Regions from separate parts of the Homo sapiens genome. Here region 2 is linked to region 1. The links are contacts of gene promoters, found by promoter capture Hi-C in human tissues and cell types (Jung and others, 2019). All regions are on one chromosome and are shown on one strand. Each heading gives the region's core, a stretch centred on a gene start or on the middle of the fragment in contact. The rest is flanking DNA. Distances are from core to core; before and after follow the strand shown. Region 1 holds the start of BAZ1B (bromodomain adjacent to zinc finger domain 1B). Region 2 overlaps GTF2I (general transcription factor IIi).

Region 1 (6,944 bases), core at 2,438-4,937:
TGAGGCAGGAGGATCTCTTGAGTCCGGTTCAAGGCTTCCCTGTGCTACCACCTCGTCTGTGAACAGCTGCTGCACTCCAGCCTGGGCAACACAGCAAGATTCCATCTCTTAAAACAAAACAAAAACATGCTCTAGTCACACTTGTGTAGAGCCAGATTAACAGTATGAATAAGCCCCTCATTATCATACCCTCAATAAATTCTCACATAATGATGCTACAAAGGTCGTGAACTAGTTATTTCTAAGCTTTAGAAACTATGACAGTTGAAGTAACACAACAAAAATACTCATCTACAACACGCTGCTTGTAGCTCCAATTCCTGCCTAAAACCTATCTTGACTTAAATACAGTCAGTGTCACATCAAGAACTGATTCTGATAAAGTTAGTGTTTTCCAAGATCTAGTGTCCTGCCTGTGGGAATACCTTAGGAAGTAATGTACCATACAAAGCTACAGTACAATCAACATAATCACCAATATTTAACACCTAGTCATTAAATGTGTGCATTACTCACAACTTCCACTAAGTTTAATGAAGATTCACAATATACTCCAAGAACATACCAACATACAGCTTTAAGTCAGTAAAATATCACACAAAGTTCTGTGATACATGCAATCAAAAGGTAGGTATTAAAAGAAAATTAAAATATCAAGTCCCATTAAAAACATAATTGTAAATATAAGTTGAGAACTGGGAATACTACTTCAAAGGCAGCTGTTACCTAACCACATATTTGTTCTCCTCTATGAAACCACTAATAGCCTAATAAAGAAATATGCCAATCTGCCAACCATACAGTACAATTGTTTAAAAACCATCCTCAAAGTGCTTCCACTTGCAGAAATTCCCGAAAGAGCAATTTCCCCCCAATATATAATATGTTTTAAGACTTCTTTTGTTAAAACAGTTTTAAATGCTGTTATGGGAAATTAAAAAATGAAGAATGTTTATTAAATACATACCACTTAAAATGTTTCCGGTTTCAGTTTTAAATTGTTACCATCAAAACTCTTCATATATATATTTCAATTTCATTCATTCAATAATATGAAAAAGCCTGCGTTGCCAGTCCTAAATTAACTTCCTACAGCCATTTTTTACATAGCTCAGTACCTGAAATATACTTAGAAATTGTCTCTTCTCTATGGCATGTTTCTTATACTCTGCTAGAACCAGACCTGAGAAAGTATCATCTGAAAGTGTGTGAGCATCCATCAACGGCTCAAAACATTAATGACATTGGAAAAGTATATGTCGGATTCTCACAAGTTGCTACTCCACTGCCGATTCGAATGTATTAAAAAGTAGGGTACTGGCCAGGCGCGGTGGCTCACGCCTGTTAATCCCAGTACTTTGGGAGGCCGAGATGGGCGGATCACCTGAGGTCAGGAGTTTGAGACCAGCCTGGCCAACATGGTAAAACCCCATCTCTACTAAAAACACAAAAAGTTAGCCGGGCGTGGTGGCACGCGCCTGTAATCCTAGCTACTCAGGAGGCTGAGGCAGGAGAATCACTTGAACCCTGGAGGCGGAGATGGCAGTGAGCCCAGATCGTGCCACTGCACTGCCACCTGGGTTAACAAGAGGGAAACTCCGTCTCAAAAAAAAAAAAAAAAAAAAGTGGGGTACTTCGGTATAATGCAGTATTTGGTAGAGCTAGTGGAACTTCTCCAGAACATTCCAAGTCTTCACAGGACAAGAAAAAAACCAGATCACCACCCCTCCACTTTAAAGTGCCTTACCTTATACCATAATGACAAAAAAGTGAGGTAATATTTAAATTAATTGAAAGTGAAGGAGTAACATTCCACCTTCTTCTGTTGATTGACTTACAGGGATGAGGTAGGAAGAGCGGTGGATTCTACTCCTCTTTCATCATTTGACCTTCAACAAGTCAACCTCCACTCTCTGGGCCAACTCAGCAAACCAAGCCCGAGGACCCGACCACCTCCAAGATCCACTTCAGCTCCAAGATGCTACAGCTCTATTTCTCCAAGAGCCTTCCTCCAGCATGGACTGATTTTCCAGGCCCCTTTGTGTGTATACTCCCCACAAAGGGACACTCACAAATTGCACTCCAACAAGAATGAGATTATCCTCTAAAGTACTGCGTTAAAGTGAGGATCAGGGAGAAATGAAATAACTCTGAGAGACACTTCCTCCTATACAGAAGCAAGCAAGAAACTGAGAAATGAAGTCCTTCCGAACAGAAGGGGCTGAGAAAACTCATAACACATTAGCCTTCACTCTTAAAGCTTTCAGTCACCAAAGAAATGCTTGATTCCGAAATCGTTTTTGTTTTTTTTACAGATAAGCCTCAAAAACGATTCTTCTGGCACCCATTAAAAAAAAGCAAATAAAAGCTGCACAACTTTTCACTAAAAGATAATGCTTATGCAAGAAATCTTAGTCATGACGAGAGGATGCTTCCTTTGTAAAACATCCAATTTCATGTTCCTAAAATACAACATAAAAACTTCACGTCTTGGTTTTTTTGTTTGTTTAATTTTAACAAATACCAATCTCCTTCTAAACCTTCAAAATTTCAAACCTGTGTCTGCCCAGGGAAGGCAGGCATCAGCTCCTCCACAGGCAGTTTCCTTCCCTCCCTTTCCTCTAAGCGGGGAATCTCATTCCTAGTTTTCTGCCCCAGGGTCCTGTCAGTTCATCCCCGGCCTAAAGTCCCCTCGGGAGACGAAAAAAACGCCAAGTATCCCCGCAGAGATCGGGGTAAGACGCAGTTGAGTCTTGCACACGCCGCATCACGAGGCCGCGCGAGTACAATTTCAAAACTTAAGCTGCAGGTTTCATTTAAATTTTTAAAAAATTTTTGTAAAAATTAAAGGAGAAAACCTAGCTCCCCCTCCCCACGCCTCCTCCTCCCTCTCGGGTCCTCAAGGCCTAAAGCCAACCCGGGGAAGGTAATGGGGATGGGGGATGCGCTCCTCGCCGGCGAGGCCCCGGGACAAAGTGCGGGGCCCCGGGGGCGGCCGAAGCGGGCCCTTCTCCTTCCAGGGCCGGTGCGCGCCCCCCGCCGGATCCCCTGGAAGGATCGGCGGGCGCAGGCTGAGACTCAGCCTCCAGGCCCGCGAGCGGCCGGGGCGCGCTGACAGCTGCCCCGGGCCGGGGATGCGCGGCTGACCTGGTCTCGCGAGCCCCAGGCCCTACCCCGGCCCAGCCCGGCCCAGCCCGGCCCGCGCGGCTGGAAAAGGATACTCCCGGGTGCGGAAGGCCTCCTGAGTGTGCGGGATGGTGAAGAGCGGCTCCTCTCCGGGCAACGGCTTCACCAGCGGGAAGGGCTTGCGGCCCAGGAGCGGCGCCATCGCGGCGGCGGCGGTGGGGACTGGCGGCTGCTGGGGCCGGCCCCGCGGCGCAGCACTAGGCCCCGCGGCCCGGAGCGAGCGCCAGGCGCCCGGGGGTGGGGTGGGGGAAGGGAGGGGTGAGAGGGCGGCGCGAACTCCGGCTCCCTCACCGCCGGCGCGGCCGCGCGACAGTCATGGAGCGGAACGCCACGGCGCAGAGCTCCCGCGCACACCGCCGCGCCTCCCAGCAGCCCCCCGCCGACCTCCGCTTCGGGTCCCGGCGGCCGGCAGTCACGACTCCTCCTCAGCAGCACCGGAGGAAATTATTGAAAAATGGCGGGAGATTCCCCTCCTCCCCCGGGCCCGGCCAACGCACACACTAACTTGCTCCCCCGTGGCGCCGGTGGCGAATGCTCCAATAGGCGGAGAGCTGGTCAGCGCTCACAGCCTATTGGCTCGGAGGAGCTGCCGCTCCGCGCCTGGGTCCCGCCCCCCTGCCCCTGTCGCGTAGTTGGGTTGCAGCGCACTAGAGGGCAGTCTGAAGAGGTGAAAGGTCACGTTATGTAAGCGCCCGTGATAGGCGTGCGGGCCTCCGACGGCAGAGTTAAAAGTGGGGGACAGCGGGGGATGGAGAGGACGAGAACTCAAAGAGGTCAAGCCGGAGAAGCCCCTCGCATATACAGATACTGCGCCATCTGTCACCGACGGCGACACCGACATCCGGGCACCACTGTCCGTGTGGTGCGCCGGAGGGGGAGGGTGAGCGCGCGGCCAGGGGCTTTGTCTTTCCTCTTGGGCGCCTCCCCCTTCTTAAAGGCGCCGTGCTCGGCCACGCCCGGGGATGCGCGGGTGGGGCTGGGCTGCAGGGAGGGGTTGGCGGGAAGTGGCCCCGGGAGCTTACCCTACCAAAGGTTCTGCGGAAGGACAACGTGGGGGCCAGCTTTGCTCACCCCAGAGTTAACTTCTGGGCGGGAGTGTGGTTGAGATCTGGGTAGAAGTATACTGCTTGTTTCTAGGGGCTGGCTGGAAAGTAGAATATAGAAGCTTCTTTGGAGAAATAGATTAAAAGACGTACTTAGTTTTTTGGTTTTTGGTTTTTGTTTTTTTTGAGACGGAGTCTCGCTCTGTCGCCCAGGCTGGAGGGCAATGGCGCGATATCGGCTCACCGCAACCTCCGCCTCCCGGGTTCAAGAGATTCTCCTGCCTCAGCCTCCCAAGTAGCTGGAATTACTGGCGTGCACCACCACGCCCGGCCAATTTTGTATTATTAGTAGAGACGGGGCTTCTCCATGTTGGTCAGGCTGGTCTCAAACTCCCGACTTCAGGTGATCCGACCGCCTAGGCCTCCCAAAATTATCATTATTTTTTTTTTTGAGACGGAGTTTCACTCTTGTTGCCCAGGCTGGAGTGCAGTGGTGCAGTCTCGGCTCACTGCAACCTCTCCCTCCCGGGTTCAAGCTATTCTCTTGCCTCGGCCTCCCGAGTAGCTGGGACTACAGGTGCGCGCCACCACACCCGGCTATTTTTTGTATTTTGTAGAGACGGGGTTTCACCATGTTGGTCAGGCTGGTCTCGGACTCCTGATCTCAGGTGATCCACCCGCCTCGGCCTCCCAAAGTGTTGGGATTACAGGCGTGAGCCACCACGCCCTGCCAGAGCTGTGACTCTGGCTTTTTTTTTTTTTCTCCCATGATACTCAGCACCTGGCTCGGAACATTGTAGGTGCTAGTGAATACTATTTGAATGAATTGGATCTACCTTTTATTTTTTATTTTTTTTGTAGAGACAGGGTCTTACTTTGTTGCCCAGACTGGTCTCGAACTCTTGGCCTCAAGCAATTGTCCCGCCTCTGCCTCCCAAAGTGCTGAGATTAGGCGTGACCCACTGTGCCCAGCCAGGATGTCTCTTTAATAGGTACGTCTGGGCCGGGCGCAGTGGCTCACCCCTGTAATCCCAGCACTTTGGGAGGCCGAGGCGGGCGGATCACGGGGTCAGGAGATGGAGACCATCCTGGCTAACACGGTGAAACCCCGTCTCTACTAAAAATACAAAAAATTAGCCAGGCGTGGTGGCGGGTGCCTGTAGTCCCAGCTACTGGGAAGCTGAGGCAGAATGGCGTGAACCCGGGAGGTGGAGCTTGGAGTGAGCGGAGATCGTGCCACTGCACTCCAGCCTGGGCGACAGAGCGAGACTCCGTCTCAGGGAGGCGGGGGGGGGGGGGAAATAGGTACGTTTGGTCGGGCACGATGGCTCACGCCTGTAATCCCAGCATTTTGGGAGGCTGAGGCGGGCGCCTCACCTGAGCTCGGGAGTTCGAAACCAGCCTGAGCACCATGGAGAAACCCTGTCTCTACTAAAAATACAAAATTAGCCGGGCGTGGTGGCGCATGCCTGTAATCCCAGCTATTCGAGAGGCTGAGGCAGGAGAATCGCTTGAATCCGAGAGGGGGTGGTTGCGGTGAGCCGAGTTTGTGCTATTGCGCTCCAGCCTGGGCAACAAGAGCAAAACTCCGTCTCAAAAATTATAATAATAATCACAGTTCTATACAAAGTGCAGAATAAGAAAATAGCATCAACTATTTTAATGCTATTAAATGGGGAGCATTTCAGTTGCTTCTCCAAGCAGACAACACCCACATCCAGAATTTGTTTGGCTTTCCAGTACAATCAAAAACACACTCATTAAGTTATCTCCCTATTAAACTGTCTCCCTTAGTTTAAAGAACTTCACTTTAAAGTTTCCCAGCCTGTACCTTCCCAGCTGTACCTTCCCAGCCTGTCCTTCAACGGGGCTAGACTGCGAGGTGTCTCTAAATGCAGTCTCCTAATGTCAGACCTCTATCTCCTTTTCTTCTCACCTCAAGGATCTCCTATCCCCACTAGGAGGTCTAGGTCAAAAGCTACCTCTGTGAAGTTTCCTCTGATCACCTAGCAGAAAAGATCTCGGTTCCTTTTCCTTGAGGCAGTAGACTTTTCTCCCAAGAACAGCAGGAGAAGCCTTGCCAGAGCACATAGCGTTTGAGTTAATTGAGAAAAGAAAAGAGTTCTCTAGACAGAGAAGGAGGGACGAACATTATAGACAGAACAGCAGAGTGAAGCCTGGAAGTTCAAGATCGTGTGCCCAAAATGTGAGGATTTGAGGCAGAATATATCAGATGAGAATGGTAAAGGAAGTGACCATCCTGATATATTCTGTAATGGCTGAATCGGAGTGACTACTTAGAAGGGAATTACAGGGCTAGGCATGGTGGCTCACACCTGTAATCTCAGCACTTTGGGAGGCTGAGGAGAGAGGATACTTTGCGGCCAAGAGTTTGAGACAAGTCTAGGCAACATGGCAAAACCCCGTCTCTGCTAAAAATACAAAAATCAGCCGGGCGTGGTGGCGCATACCTGTAATCCCAGCTACTTGGGAGGCTGAGGCAGGAGAATTGCTTGAACCCGGGAGGCAGAGGTTGCAGTGAGCTGAGATGGTGCCCAGTCTGGGCGATAAAGCGAAATTCCATCTCAAAAAAAAAAAAAAAAAAGCAAAAGAAAACAATTTGATATTTCAGAACAGCATCTCACTTTGCACATGTGAACTGGGCACCATAATCATTTCAGCGCTTGGGTCCGCTGTGGGCTAGAATCCATTGCT
Region 2 (6,726 bases), core at 3,901-6,400, 1.2 Mb after region 1:
TAAATCTCTTTTAAGATGGAGAAATATTTATCATGTTTATGTTAAATTTCAGACTTAAAAGTTTTTTTTAAACTTAATTATTATTTTTATTTATTTATTTATTTATTTATTTTTTTATTTATTTTGAGATGGAGTCTTGCTCTGTCGCCCAGGCTGGAGTGCAGTGGCATGATCTTGGCTCACTACAACATCTGCCTCCCAGGCTCAAGCAAATCTCCTGCCTCAGCCTTCTGAGTAACTGGGATTACAGGCGCCCGCCACCACACCTGGCTAATTTTTATATTTTTTTAGCAGAGACGGGGGTTCACCATGTTGGCCAGGCTGGTCTCAAACCCCTGACCTCAAGCAATCTACCCATCTCAGCCTCCCAAAGTGCTGGGATTACAGGTGTGAGCCTCCACGCCCAGCCTAATCTCAGCATTTTGGGAGACCAGAGTGGGAGTCTCCCTTGAGGCCAGGAGTTCGAGATAAGCCTGGGCAACATAGCAAGATCCAATTTCTACAAAAAATAGAAAACAATTAGCTGGGAGTGGTAATGCATGCTTCTGTAGTCCCAGCTACTCAGGAGGCTGAGGTAGGAGGATTGCTTGATCCTCGAGAGTTGGAGGCTGCAGTGAGCTATGATCATGCCACTGCACACCAACCTGGGCAACAGAGTAAAACCCTGTTTCTAAAAAAAAAAAAAAAAAAAAAAAAAAAAAATCTGTTTCATCATTTATATGTCAGCAGAGTCATATTCTCCATATTCCATCTTACTAGACAAATGGTATGTTTCTGCATTTCTCTCACTGATGAAAATAAGAGCTTTTTCATTCAAGGAGGTTGTGGTTGGGTGAAGGGATGAAAAGCAGTGTTTATTCTGGTGTGATCCAGAGCTGCAAAGCCTAGTTCTACCCCACTAATTCTATATTTAAAGCCTTTAGACATATTATATTTGAAATGTTGAAAAACTAACTCCAATTTTTTTTTTTTGTATGTAGGTGGTCGTGTGATGGTAACAGATGCTGACAGGTCAATACTATCTCCAGGTGGAAGGTAAAACCTAATTTCATTACTGCTGTTTAACTCCCACACCTCAAAAAGTTTTAGTTGTTAGATAATTGAGATATCAGAATATTAAAAAGGCCTCATGTCACACATCTTAAAGTTTAATAGGCAAGGATATCATTTGGGGATCTTGTGAACATGCCCTCTTTGACTTGGTATTTCTGAATAGTAGAGTTCCTGGGAAAAGCCAGAGGCATTGGTCACACTGTGAATTGGCCTTAGAGTGGTATTTGGAAGTTAATATGCTATTCTGTAGTATTTTATTATACTGTTTTCCCCAAAAGATAGATAGAAATTAAAGTACTAAGTTCAGTTGGTAACTCTTTTTTTTTTTTTTTATTTTTGAGATGGAGTTTTGCTCTTTTTGCCCATGCTAGAGTGAAGTGGCGCGATCTCGGCTCACTGCAACCTCTGACCCCCTGCTGGGTTCAAGCGATTCTCCTGCCTCAGCCTCCCAAATAGCAGGGACTACAAGCATGTGCCACCATGCCCAGCTAATTTTTTTGTATTTTTAGTAGAGACGGGGTTTCACCGTGTTGGCCAGGCTGGTCTCGAACTCCTGACCTCGGGTGATCCACCTGCCTCGGCCTCCCAAAGTACTGGGATTACAGGCATGAGCCACCACGCCTGGCCCGATAAGTCTTAATATGCTACTCTGTAGTATTTTATTGTACTTTTTTCCCCAAAAGATAGATAGAAATTGAAGTACTAAGTTCAGTTGATAACTCTTTTTTTTTGTGGAGACAGAGTCTCCCTCTGTGGCTCAGGCTGGAGTTCAGTGGCATGATCTCAGCTCACTGCAACCTCCACCTCCCGGATTCAAGTGATTCAGGTGAGCGCCACCACGCCTGGCTAATTTTTGTATTTTTAGTAGAGATGAGGTTTCACCATATTGGCCAGGCTGGTCTTGAACTCCTGACCTCGTGATCTGCCCGCCTCGGCCTCCCAATGTGTTGGGATTACAGGCGTGAGCCACTGTGCCCGGCCCAATAACTCTTATTTATGCAATAAATAAATATGTCAGTTTTAAGCTGAGTCAGGTTTGCACCCACCTTGGTCAAGGGAGGGATCTTAACACTTTGAGACCCAGAGACTTTGAATGCTGTGGGAATGGCTGTCACCAGCACGTGGCTTGATCAGGGCTTTCTTCTCCTTGCAGTTGTGGCCCCATCAAAGTGAAAACTGAACCCACAGAAGATTCTGGTATGTACTAGCACTTTTAGAATCAATGGTGAAATTAAGGAAGACTTTTCCTTAGTGTAGAAGTTTATAGTTTGACTCAATTATTGTTTTGTTTTGATAAGAAAGAGGCAGTCACTACTAATGTATTCCAACTGTGACACTATTTGTTAATGTTATCACATTAAGACCCAGAAAGGTAATTTGCTCAGTAAGTGGTAGGCAGAGTTCTTTGCCAGTTACATATGTTTGTAGATAAAATGTATTTTTTTTTCCCGTTGTACAGACATATAATGTAAGAGGTCAGCTGTTCTATAGTGCTTTTTACAAAAATCAATAGAATGCCCCCTTCGTCTCCACCTTCCTTCTCTGCACTCCTGTTTTCCACTCTCCAAGGAGACCATTTTCAATTCTCAAATAAAATTGCTATTTAATTCCTTATTTATTTATTTATTTTTTGAGATGGAGTCTTGCTTTGTCACCCAGACTGAAGTGCAGTGGCACGACCTCGGCTCACTGCAACCTCTGCCTCTGGGTTCAAGCGATTCTCCCACCTCAGCCTCCCGAGTAGCTGGGATTACAGGCATACGCCATCACGCACGACTAATTTTTGTATTTTTAGTAGCGACGGGGTTTCGCCAGGTTGGCCTGGCTGGTCTTGAACTCCTGACCTCAAGTGATCCTCCTGCCTCAGCCTTCCAAAGTCCTAGGATTACAGGCATAAGCCACCGTGCCCGGCCCCCGTTTATAATTCTGTTCTGTCCTAGAACCGTGGCACCCAGATGTTCTCAGCATATGTATTTATTTCATCATTTCCCAGTGTTATCCTGTGTCCTAGTGCCACTGTCAAGCCTCCCGCTGCTCGGCCCTGTGCCCCTTATTCACACGGGACACTCCTTAGTGGGCTGTCACCGCCCTGCCTGCCCCCTCATCTCCCTCTGTCTGACCAGGCCCTCGGCAGCTTCCCCAGCCCCTTCCCCGGCCCTTTGTCAGCCTTCTCATTCTGCCATGCTTCCTGGGCAGCCACCTGCCCCGCTTCACCCCATCTAAGGGCATCTCGAATGAGTTGTTGGGGAGGAGGGTAGGGCCGCGTTAACGTGTGTGTGCGTGCATGTGAATGAGAGCTTTTATGTATGTAAGTGTATTTTGGGAGAGCTGCAAGAAAGTGTTGAATTATCCTTTTTTGGAAAAGGTATTTGAGTCTTTTACACTGTTTGCTGGTTTTACAGAAGGTTTTTCTTTTTTCTTTATTTTCACTCCATAGGAAATCTCAAATTTTTGTGTGGTTTTCAGTAGATTGTGCCAAAAAAAATCATCATTTTGCAAATGTTTCCCCTTAATTCATATATTCATCTCCTGAATATTTAGTTTGCTTCTAAAAAGAAACATGCTGAATTCAGAAACCCCATGTGTTTAATTGAATTCTTTCAACTGTCTTTATGTACACATCAGCATCATTATAGGTTTTTTTTTTTCTCTTTTACACTTTGCATCTTTGTATTCTTAATTTATCCTGCAAATAAGATGTACATTTATAGCCAGGGTGCAGCCAGGAGACAGAAACCATATCAGTTATTGGAACAGAGAAAATTTAATGTAAAGATTGTTGGCCGGGTGCAGTGGCTCACACCTGTAATCCCAGCACTTTGGGAGGCTGAGGCGAGTGGATCACCTGAGGTCAGGAGTTGGAGACCGGCCTGGCCAACATGGTGAAACCCAGTCTCTACTAAAAATACAAAAAAAATTAGCAGGGCATGGTGGTGGGCGCCTGTAATCCCAGCTACTCAAGAGGCTGAGGGAGGAGAATCGTTTGAACTCAGGAGGTAGAGGTTACATTGAGTCAAGATCGTGCCATTGCACTCCAGCCTGGGCAACAAGAGTGAAACTCCATCTCAAAACAAAACAAACAAAAACAGATTGTTAACTGGTTATAAAATTGTTAACTTTGTAACCTTAAGGAGAATACTAAGGTTTTTTTTAAGGAACAATTCTAGGCAGTGGCTGCCACCCCATCAGCTTTCCATCTGACTTCTGAGGTGGGGTAGTGTTTGGCTGGTGCTGGTGGCTGAGGGGCATGGTGAGGCTGCTTCTGGTAGTGTTGGAGACATTGCCAGCCGGGCACAGCTGTTGTGATGGGAGGGCCTGCTTTGGCCAGGCTGAACGAGGGTACCAAGGAGTGACCTTTTTGGGATGAGAATGCAGACAAGAAGCCAAAAGGAAGGCCCAGATCTCTTCTCCTCCTCTAGCCTTTCTCTCTGTAGTGTATCTTTGTGGCAGAGACTCACATGGAGCCAGCTGCTATGCAGAGCTCAAACTTCAGCAGAAACCCAGAGGATGGGTTTGCAACTGAGAGACATCAGTTTTGTGGGTGGCCCAGGCTGTTCTCTTTGGCTGCTCAGCATATATACACACCCTTCCCTGCACATTTGACCTTCTGTACAACAACGAGACAACTGTTCCATCTAAAGAGATGCAACTTTACTTCCTACAAAGAAATCCATTTTTACTCTCTCCTCAAAATGGGGGGACACAGTGTTCCAGCAGTCACACCCATCGCTGGGAGACTGACTGAAAATCCAGTCGCGAGCTATGTTACCTGCTCTTTAAATGCAGTGCAAACCTATTTGAGTAATCTCTAGTCTAATGGACAAATGGAAAGGAAACTTCCAGCCAAACTATTGTGAAATACTACCACACAGAAGAGAATAGTTAGTATATGCAAGCATATAATCTTCACACAAACACATTTGTAACAGACAAGGAAGACAATAGGCATAGTCGCCACAGTCTACGTTTCTGCAGCTTACCAGACTTTTTTTTGGATTTACCTTTTTATTTTTATTTATTTATATTTTTTGAGACAAGGTCTCACTCTGTCGTCCAGACTGGAGTGCAGTCGTGCGATCTCGGCTCACCACAACCTCCGTGTCTCAGATTCAAGCGATTCTCCCACCTCAGCCTCCCGAGCAGCTGGGATTACAGACGTGTGCCACCCAGCCAATTTTTGTATTATTCATTTATTTATTTTAGTAGAGACGGGGTTTAACCATGTTGACCAGGCTGGTCTTGAACTCCTGACCTCAGGTAATCATCCGCCTCAGCCTCCCAAAGTGCTGGGATTATAGGCATTAGCCTCTGCACCCAGCCAGTATGTGTAAGGTTCTTTAGCCAATTGGAGTGACCCAAATTTTTATTCCTGAAGGGTCTGAATCCCCAGTGGATCTGCCTTTTTTGTTAGCTGTAATGCTGTGATTTTCTTTCTTTCTTTATTTTTTTTTTTTGAGACGGAGTCTTGCTGTGTCGCCCAGGCTGGAGTGTAGTGGTACCATCTCCGCTCACTGCAACCTCCACCTCTTGGGTTCAGGTGATCTTTGTGCCTCAGCCTCTCGGGTAGCTGGGACTACAGGTGCGTGCCACCACTCCCGGCTAATTTTTGTATTTTTAGTAGAGACGAGGTTTCACCATGTTGGCCAGGCTGGTCTCGAACTCCTGACCTCAGGTGATTCGCCCGCCTGGACCTCCCAAAGTGCTGGGATTACAGGCACGAGCCACCGCACCTGGCTGTTAGCTGTAATTTTCTATTAACTTTTACTGATGGACATGAAAGTGCTAAGTTAGCCCAGAGAGTTGCAAAGGTCTCAGATGCAGTGTTCTCTGCCACCACTGTGTAGCAGCAAAACACTTTCCCCTTGGTGATTGAAGGCAATGGAGTAACTCCTTTTTTTGCTTGTTGCTTCAGGGATGCATACCCTTTGTATATCAATTTAACTCTCTTTGAGCTCTTTCTCTAGAGTTGAAAATATTCTTTACAAAGTTGCCCAAGTCAGAGCTCACGATTTCGTTTGTGTTAGGGTTGGTATGACTGTGGTTGAATATCTCAGTCTGAAATGTGTATGTGCACCCATGCATTGTTCATTTCTTTTTCTTTTTTTTTGAGAGGGAGTCTCGCCGTGTCACCCAGGCTGGAGTGCAGTGGCACAATTTTGGCCCTTCCCAAAGTCAACTTTTTAATAACATCGATTGCTTTTGCCTATTTTGACCTTCATATGAGTGGAATTACACAACATGTACTCTTTTGTATCTGGCCACAAAGGTCTGCTTCAAATCATCTGTCCTAATTGTGGGCAAAGCTTTATGCAGAAAGGTGTGCTTTGTACCCTTACACAAATCCCTGTAATAAAAGGGATGTATTAGGCAGAAAAAAACCAATGTATCTCATTATTGAAATTGTTGACCATTATGCTATCTCTCCTTTGGAATACTGAGTTATTAAAACTGATGTTTATAAGTGTGTTTCAATGGTTTATAAAAGTATTTTTAATATTAAGTGAAAAGGGAGTGTGGTAAAATTTTCTTTGATTCTAAAGATAAGAATTTGCTGGAGAAAAGAGCAGCACATAATTGCAGAATATTAATAAATGGTTAAAACTTTGCATTGGCTGGGATTATAGTGATTTTTTACCTTCTGCTACCTAGCAAACTTTTGTCTTTTCAAAGACG

The links. The method cuts DNA at HindIII sites, captures the fragments that hold promoters and counts their contacts. A contact is called where the count stands out against the background at its distance.
Region 2: a fragment that was not itself captured here is called in contact with the fragment with the promoter of BAZ1B in region 1 in 1 of the 25 tissues and cell types used here (dorsolateral prefrontal cortex).

What each region holds. Positions count from the first base shown.
Region 1 is chr7:73,518,606-73,525,549 of GRCh38, forward strand. BAZ1B (bromodomain adjacent to zinc finger domain 1B) reads right to left here and starts at 3,688. Exons shown (of 20, transcript NM_032408.4): 1 at 3,222-3,688. The coding sequence starts at 3,328. RefSeq lists silencers at 2,932-3,811, 4,162-4,301 and an enhancer at 3,872-4,031. The HindIII fragment of the contact is 11,404 bases long and covers 1,254-6,944 here.
Region 2 is chr7:74,704,184-74,710,909 of GRCh38, forward strand. GTF2I (general transcription factor IIi) reads left to right here. Exons shown (of 35, transcript NM_032999.4): 7 at 981-1,035; 8 at 2,207-2,250. All of the region lies in intron 2 of GTF2I-AS1 (GTF2I antisense RNA 1), which reads right to left. Among named protein-coding and RNA genes, the nearest start is that of GTF2I-AS1, 21 kb to the right of the region's middle. The HindIII fragment of the contact is 4,442 bases long and covers 2,930-6,726 here.